Linked DNA regions of Homo sapiens: region 2 is linked to region 1. Evidence: promoter capture Hi-C in 16 types of primary human blood cells and fetal thymus (Javierre and others, 2016). All regions are on one chromosome and are shown on one strand. Each heading gives the region's core, a stretch centred on a gene start or on the middle of the fragment in contact. The rest is flanking DNA. Distances are from core to core; before and after follow the strand shown. Region 1 holds the start of ASTN2-AS1 (ASTN2 antisense RNA 1). Region 2 overlaps PAPPA (pappalysin 1).

What was found. Contacts are between HindIII fragments. The CHiCAGO score rates a contact against its expected background, and 5 or more counts as called.
Region 2: a fragment that was not itself captured here is called in contact with the fragment with the promoter of ASTN2-AS1 in region 1 in 9 of 17 cell types (M2 macrophages, M1 macrophages, M0 macrophages and 6 more); the score reaches 20.4 in M2 macrophages.

What each region holds. Positions count from the first base shown.
Region 1 is chr9:116,502,314-116,506,253 of GRCh38, reverse strand. ASTN2-AS1 (ASTN2 antisense RNA 1) reads right to left here and starts at 1,971. Exons shown (of 12, transcript NR_033973.1): 1 at 1,910-1,971. The region is part of intron 19 of ASTN2 (astrotactin 2); the gene reads left to right. RefSeq lists an enhancer at 602-771. The HindIII fragment of the contact is 9,663 bases long and covers 1-2,657 here.
Region 2 is chr9:116,206,121-116,210,206 of GRCh38, reverse strand. It overlaps PAPPA (pappalysin 1), which reads right to left. Exons shown (of 22, transcript NM_002581.5): 3 at 2,606-2,751. Among named protein-coding and RNA genes, the nearest start is that of PAPPA, 54 kb to the right of the region's middle. The HindIII fragment of the contact is 3,198 bases long and covers 433-3,630 here.

The DNA of each region.
Region 1 (3,940 bases), core at 722-3,221:
AGTGTGCATCAGAATGCCAGCCTTGCCAGCCTCTCAGAGTTTCATGAACAACTATGAGTTAAGTCATTCAGTAACCACTTATTGAACACCTACTACATACCGAACACTATTCCAGAAGCTGAGGAGAAGGCACTGAACAAGCTCCTATCATGGAGCTTATGTTCCCGGTACAGAGGGTTGGGAGGCAATGATGGTAAAGTAATAGATGTGCAATACAGAGTCAAAGTGTACTATGTGTTTGAAAGAAAAATAGGGTATGAGGATAGAGGTTGGGGGCATACCATTTAGTTACAGTGATCAGGACAAACCTCTTTGAGGGTGTGATGTTTGAGCAGAGACCGGAAAGTGGGAGGAAGTGAACCATGTGGCTAGCTGAATGTAGACTGCTCCAGACTGAGGATGTAGCAATAGCAAAGCCCCTGGAGCATCCTCAGGAGCACCAAGGAGGGCACAGTCATTGAAGTGTAGTCAGCAAAGGGAGAGGGAAGGCGCTCTAGCTGGAGCAGTAGTGAGGCTTTGGATTGCCTAGGAGTTGATGGATATGAAAATACCAGGTACACTGTAAAGTTCTAGTGCAACATGAGTGCCCCCGACCCATCGCCACTTCTTGTTTTGGAATACATTTTATACATTAAGGAGAAGCACTGGGTCAGATATTTTACACATTGAATCCTTGAAACATTCTATTAAAATGGTAATACTTCTTATTCCTGTCTTACACAAGAGGATGCTAAAGGTAGGAAGCCCAGTTTTATTGGAATCCAAAGGTGGTTCTTTGCATATTGTGGCAGACTTCTGGTTTTGGTTTGGTTTTGCCTTGCTTTTCTTAAAAAATAAATTCTAATGACTACTCAGATCCATTTGCATTGATTGGGTATCCAGTAAGGGAGAGGTGGAAACAGGGAGGCGAGCTGGGCACCAGGGAAAAGCTGAGCGGGAACCAACATTGTTTCCACAGAGCAGAGACTCCCTGGATTCATGATCTAGATGGTTCCATTCATCAGTAGCCTCAAAGCGATTAAAGGAATGAGTAGACTATCAGATACTAAAAGCACACGAGATGAGAAGTCAGAGATATTGATGCCCCATATGCAAAGTAGGGTTCTCTGATGTGCTAGCATAGTTAGTAATTATTGAGAATGTAAAGCATTTCAGTCACTTTTAGAGGATGTGAAAGTGTGTCTGACCTTTACTCTTCCCTCATAATAGTCAAATCTCAGTTGCGCAATTTAACCAAGTGACCTTAGGCAAGTTAGTGGATCTCTCTGAATCTTGATATACTCATTTGTAAATTTGGGGAAATAAGCTAACTTGTGTTTTTTGTTGTTGTTGTTTTGGGTTTTTTTTTTTTTTTTTTTGAGACAGGATTTCACTTGGTCATCCAGGCTAGAGGGCAGTGGTACTATCTTGGCTCACTGCAGCCTTGACTTCCCAGGCTCAAGTGATCCTCCCACCTCAGCTTCCTGAGTAGCTGGAGCTACAGATGCACGATACAACACCCAGTTAATTTTTGTACTTTTGTAGAGATGAGGTCTTACTATGTCGCCCAGGCTGGCATATTGTTATTAAGCTGAAATGAGATGCAGTACATGAAATACTAGGCATAGTATCTAACATTGTGAATGCTTAAGTTATATCAATTGTCACTGTTATTCTGAATAATATTATTATTACTTGAGAGTGTAAGATAGAAATACAAGCAGTAGTTAGCAATATGAAACACTCTCACAGGGTTACTGTAAGTATCAGAAAAGATTAAGAGCTTAATAAACACTAGTTATTATTATTATCTCAATGTCCTTTAAGTAAAATGGGTTTTCTTCTTAGACCTCAGAAAGTAGGTGCTGTCTCTCCCATCTTACCTTCCCTTCTTTCTTTCTTTCTCCCTTACCGTCCTCTTTGCCCTCACCTTGGTTGGGCCCCCATCCTGGCGATGTCAGATGCAGTCGCACAGGTTTTGCTGCTCACAATGCTACCACATTCCAAAGCTCACCATTCCAATTGTAGACATCATAAACATGTATTAATCATTGATCAAGTGTCTTGTTCTAACAAATCAGAATATTGGAACAAGGGAGGGAAGTATCTTAAGAAAGAGATGATTTTTATTTTTCTATTGTTTTTCCAATTTGCACAGAGGCACCCTATAGGCTAGCAGTAATAGTCTGAGCTTTAGTTTTCCTGTCTGTACAATGAAGCCCTGAAACAGATGATGCCTCAGGATCCCCATGGTTTTGGGTCCTTGCAGGTCCAGAAGTGGGCACTGCACTACCCAAGTTCATGAAGTCAGCTTTGGGACTATGGAGAGCAGAACTGTGATATGGACTGTGATGCCTTAGAGACCTGTGGGTTCTTGGTCTCTCTACCTTAACCACAGGTACCTGTAAACTGGGGATGATAATCCTAAACTGCCTACCTCACAGGATTATCGTGAGGATTAAATGAGGAAAGAGCGTGCTTTGTAAGCCCTAATGAGCTGCACAAATTGGAAAGATTACTTACACCACACGAACACACTCATATATATATTAAGTATGTATGTGTGTTTATATTTTACATTGCAGTATGTATGTGTGCATGTGTGTATATATAGTATATGTGTGTGTATATATTATGTAAAGCTGTGAACTCATAGGGTTAGGTATGAATTAGAAGCTTGTAAAACATGTTTACTCATTCAGTGTAACCCAAGGCAGTTATTAAACAGTAGGAAAAACTGACCAGCTAAATTTTCCAAGCCTAAAAACGCTTTTATAGTTTTCATTGTGGATTGAAGGGTGACCTTGTTTCCTTTTCTTTATTTCAAGGAAAATTTTAACATAAATGAGGAAGCAAGGGAGTCATTTTAATAGAGTGAAAACCTCTATATGTGGGTGGGAGGGATAGATGAGGGGAGCTGAATGGAAATGCCAGTCACCCTCTCACTCTCCCCCCCTCCTCCTCCCAGATCATCTGCCCCGAGTAGCGGTGAGACCAGAAGTAAAGCTTCCCTGGTCACTCAAGGGCATCCATCTCCAGAAGATGCCCTTCTAGCTGGTCCTGCCGTGCCCTTCCTTCCTTCCTTCCTCCCTCCTTCTTCCTTCTTCCTTCCTTTCTCCTTTCTTCTTTCCTTACTTCCTTCCCTTCTTTCCTTTCTCCTTCCTTTTTTCTTTTCTTCCATCTTCCTTCCCTTCCTCCCTCCTTCCTTCCTTCCTTTCTTCCTTCCCTTCTTCTTTCCTTCCTCCTTTTTTCTTTCCTTTCATCTTCCTTCCTTCCCTCTCTCCCTCCCTCTCTCCTTCCTTCCCTTCTTTTCTTCCTCCTTCCTTTTTTTCTTTCCTTCCATCTTTCTTCCCTCCCTCCCTCCTTTCCTCCTTCCTTCCCTTCTTCTTTCCTTCCTCTCTTTTTTCTTTCCTTTCATCTTCCTTCCTTCCCTCTCTCCCTCCCTCCTTCATTCTCTTCTTCTTTTCTACCTCCTTCCTTTTTTCTTTCCTTCCATCTTCCTTCCTTCCTTCTCTCCTTCCTTCCCTCATTCATTCATTCATTCCTTCCTTCCTTCCTTCCTTCCTTCCTTCCTTCCTTCCTTCCTTCCTTCTTTCCTTTCTTCCTTCTGTTTTTCTTGTTTGCCTTGGTCTTGGTCTTTCTGACCCCGATTTTCTCTGTTTCTCTCTCTCTCTCCTCACCAACTCCTGTCTATGTCTCTCTATTTCTATCTGTCTTTCTAGGTCTCTGACCTTCTATCCACTTCTCTCTGATTGTCTTTTTTCTGCATTTTTATTTCTGGTTCTCTGTCTTTGGCCCTATGTGTTCTTATCTATGTCTCTCTCTTTCTCTCTCCATTTCTCCTCTGTCTCTCACTGTGGCTCTCAGTTTCTGCTTCAGTCTTTCTGAGTATTTTCTGGCTGTAGTTCTCTCTTGGTCTCTTTCTCTATTTCTCTCTCTCTCTCCTCTCTCTGTGTGTGAG
Region 2 (4,086 bases), core at 782-3,281, 300 kb after region 1:
CATGTGAGTGTGCGGGTGTGCACATTCACTTGGGTATGAGAAGGGGGCAGGCAGAGGCAGGGAGGAAGAGAAATTGAGACAGGAAATCTTTCTCAATTATTTTCTGTCAATCATAACATGAAACATAATCCGCTTCCCACCCAAGGCTTTTTCCAGGGATCATGGTGTAATAGCAGAAAAAGAGGGGAAAAATATGGTTGTAATAAATTGGGTTTGATTGGGGCTACTGCAGAGGAATTACTCATGAGCAGCATCTCTTGGGATGGGGAGAGGGCAGCCTGGAGTCCAGCTGGAGTTAGCTGACATAGGTTGCAATCCTTGTTCTGCTTCACACTGGCCTTGTGACTGTGGAAAATGGACTTTGCATCTCTGGTGAGCTCTAAAATAAGCAGCTACAATAATGCCAATGATTCTCTGTCTCTCCATGAAGCTTCATTATTGAGGTAATGAGAGGACAGGACCATTCCAGGGATGATGATTGGATTGCAGACTTAATGTCTAGGCTAGCCCTGTTTGCTTTACCTCATCCCCTCCCAACTCACCCCTTTTCACAGAGTGACAGCACTTGGGCCCCAGTCCTGTTTCATTGCTTCTCTTAAAAGGTGAAATAGCTTGAGCCTGACATCATCCTGAAATACTATAACATGCTATGGATTTATAGCCTCCCTTATTCCTGGCCCTGAGCCAGACTCTGAAATTTATGGAATTATCAGGAGTAGTTTTTTCTAACAGTAGAAGCCTGCTACTCAATCCTTCTCAGACTCTGATCATGGCCCTTTCAGTTGCTTTTCTAATAGGACAGAATTTCAGAACTGAGAAGGATCCTTAGGGTCTTCTGGCCTCCTAGGACCTGCTTATTTAATATTGAAGGACATTGAGACCTGAGGAAGGAAAGAGAATTGCCTAAGGCCATACTGCTAAGTAAAGTCACAGCTGAGAACAAACACGAATTTTGGCTCTAGTCTAGCATTACTCCCATATATCATACTAGGCATGTGATATAAGCTGATCATCTTCAAGTTTGCCTAAGCTGCACGCTCTCTTCTGCCCAACCCCACCTGTCTGTGTCTGTCTATCTGCCAATCTATCTACCCATACACCATATGTCTCAGGATTTCTCAACCTCAGCACTATTGACTTTTTAGTCTGTATAATTCTTTGTAGTGGACATTGTGGACATGTAGCAGCATCACTGGCTTCTACCCACTAGATGCCAGTAGCATTCCCCCATTTGTAAGAAGCAAAAACATCTCTAGATATTGCCAAATGTCTCCTGGGGCATAAAATCCTCCCAGCTGAGAACAAGTAGATATTTATCTTTGTATCTATCTTTATTTATACAACCACACACATGCACACACACGCACACACACACACACACAAATTGGTTTCATTCTCTAAAAAACAATTGAGAAATGAGAGTCGTCTGGAGGGAACTAAGTCTATGGTTTCATTGAGCAAAACTTGCATTATTTAAATCTCTCATTTCCAAGACAGAATAGCAATGGAGAAGCTACTGGACTCTGTTTCACCAGGAGACCAGGCAGGCCTGAGGATACATCCAGCACTGTCACTGCTGAGCCTGAACATTCTCAGATAAAGATGTTCACTGAGTCATCACGATTCATTCTTGTAAATAATGGGAACATTCTACCAAACGGAAAATGATTAAATAAATGGCAGTGCCCTTGTTCAAGGGAATATTATGTGGCTATTAAAAATCTTGGCTTTAGAGAGGGGAAAATAACCCACAAGGGTGCTTTTCTTTTGTGATTAAGTGAAAAAAATATGGGTGGGAAGTTAAGGATAAGACTTCTGCGACATGGAAAAAAAAGTAGATAGCATAATATTAAGTGAAAAAAGAACACAGAATTTCATCTATGCTATGATTTTAAAAATGTACAGTTAAAAAAATGCATGTTTACATATAGATGTGTCCTGGAAGAGAGCATGGAAAAAATAAAATTAAAGAACTGCAATGTTTGCTTACAGGGCCTGGTTCAGAAACTGTTGTCATGTCTAACTTTTGGTGATTGGTTTGTACAAACTTATGTCTTGTTTATGGATATGTATAATTTGAATGTAAGAAGAGTTCCTGTTGGTGTTGGTGGGTGGAACATGGAGGAACACAGAGTTCTTGCAAACTCACTTTTTCTTGCCTCTTTGGTGTCTTTTAAGCCAACCCATGACTGGCTGTGCCAGTACAGTGTGGTTACCAGACTGAGAAGATATTTGCAGGAACTAGGAGACAGAGGGTATAAGGAGAAAGCAAACAATGGGCAGTGTTGGAAACTTAAATTCCAATTGTGACTGTCACTGTCTTGCGTGTGATGTTGGATAAGCCCCATTTCCTCTCTGGGTCTCATTTCCCCATTGATAAAACATGGTTAATAATATGGTGCTATTTCCTTCAGAAAATTGCTTGGTGGTCAAAATGAGATAAAGGATGCTAAAGAATTTTGTAAATTAAAAAGTGATAAATAAATCGGTTGTTCACCCTCACAACTACCACCACCACCATCATGATCGTAACAATGATCATCATCGCACTAAGTGTATTACTGTCCTACTCTAGTTGCCTCCTGAAGGAGTTTCTAAGACTCACCTAAGTGCATCAGGGCCTCCTTGTCCCATGGCCAAGTTGCTACTCCTGCCAACTCCTCCTCTGAGGATTTTGCAAAGAAAATATTGAGATGTGTTGATCCATCCAATTTAAGAATGTTCTTCAGCTCATTAACATCCAAGTAGGCTCTGAAACAGAAAAAGAACCTTGGCTGTTATCATGCCCCCAAAAAGATAACAGGCCCTCTCCAAATAATTTAGAGCTACTATGAGTGCCAGGCATTTTGCTAAGCACTTTAAAAATACTACCTTATTGAATTCCCCCAATAATATTATAAGTAAGATGATTCCATTTTACAGATCATAAAATTAAGTTCTCGAGAGTTTTAGAGACTTGCCAAAGTTGTTAGGCTTCTTATGAACACAGAGGTAGGTAGTATCGTTATCTCCAGAGGCTTAGAGAACCTTCTTCATACCTTACTAAGTTCAAGTTGCTACTTAGCAATGTTTTCCTTTTTCTTAATGCTGTCTCTCCCAAGGAGTTCTCACAGAGCCCAGCCAGTAGCACACATTAGTGATGGTTTCCTGCTCTTCCCCTCTTAGAATAATAAAGGGTCTCCCCATGTATGAAAGACAAAGTTCAAGTTCCCAATATAGCCTCCAAGACACAACCTACTCCTTAGCCTCATCTATCTCTACAACCTTTCTTGAGCACCCCACTGCATACAGAAAACATCTCTGTACCCTGTACGGTGCATTATCCCATTGGCAATTTTATTCATGCTGTTTCCTCTGCTGGGACTCTGATCAGCATTTTGTTCTCTAATGAACAAATCCAAAGTCTGTTCTGGTATCCCTCCTCCAGGAAGACTTCCCTGATGCTCTCCTCACCTGCACCCCTTTTAACATCTCCATACTCGTCCACCTCCTACTAGCAGAGCACTGTCTCTCATTTGCCATTTCAATAAATTGCTTCCTCTTTCTATTACATAATACACACTTGTGGCCACCTGGGGGAAGGCGAGGTGCCTTATTAATCTCTGTTTACCCAGTTCTCCGCACAAAGCTTGATACCTGGTGAGCCCTCAGTAGATTTTGATGGAATTGAATTAAATTAGGGAAAGTAAGAGTAAAAATATTTAACTCTCAGTCTCAAATTCAATAATTCCTGACTAATGGGGCCTCAGTTTCCTTATCAATACATTGAAATTAGTAACAGCTGCCTGATGCTCCACAGATCATTTCTATGGGTGGAAAACCTACACCTCTACCCTGCTGTGAATAGGATACGTCTGAGATCTAGCGTGTCAAGGCCGCCCATGTCACAGAAAGCCCCAAGCTCACGAAACCAAACATTCCTGTGACCATAATTTGTACATGTTTTCACAAAAAACATGAGTTGGAGATAGGTGGGCCCAGGAGAGCTTACATTTATGTCTAGGTGTAGCTGACTAATTCCAAGAATAGCCACACAAACTCAGATATTGACCTGAAATCTCGCTGCTGAGCCCTTCTCTTCCCCAA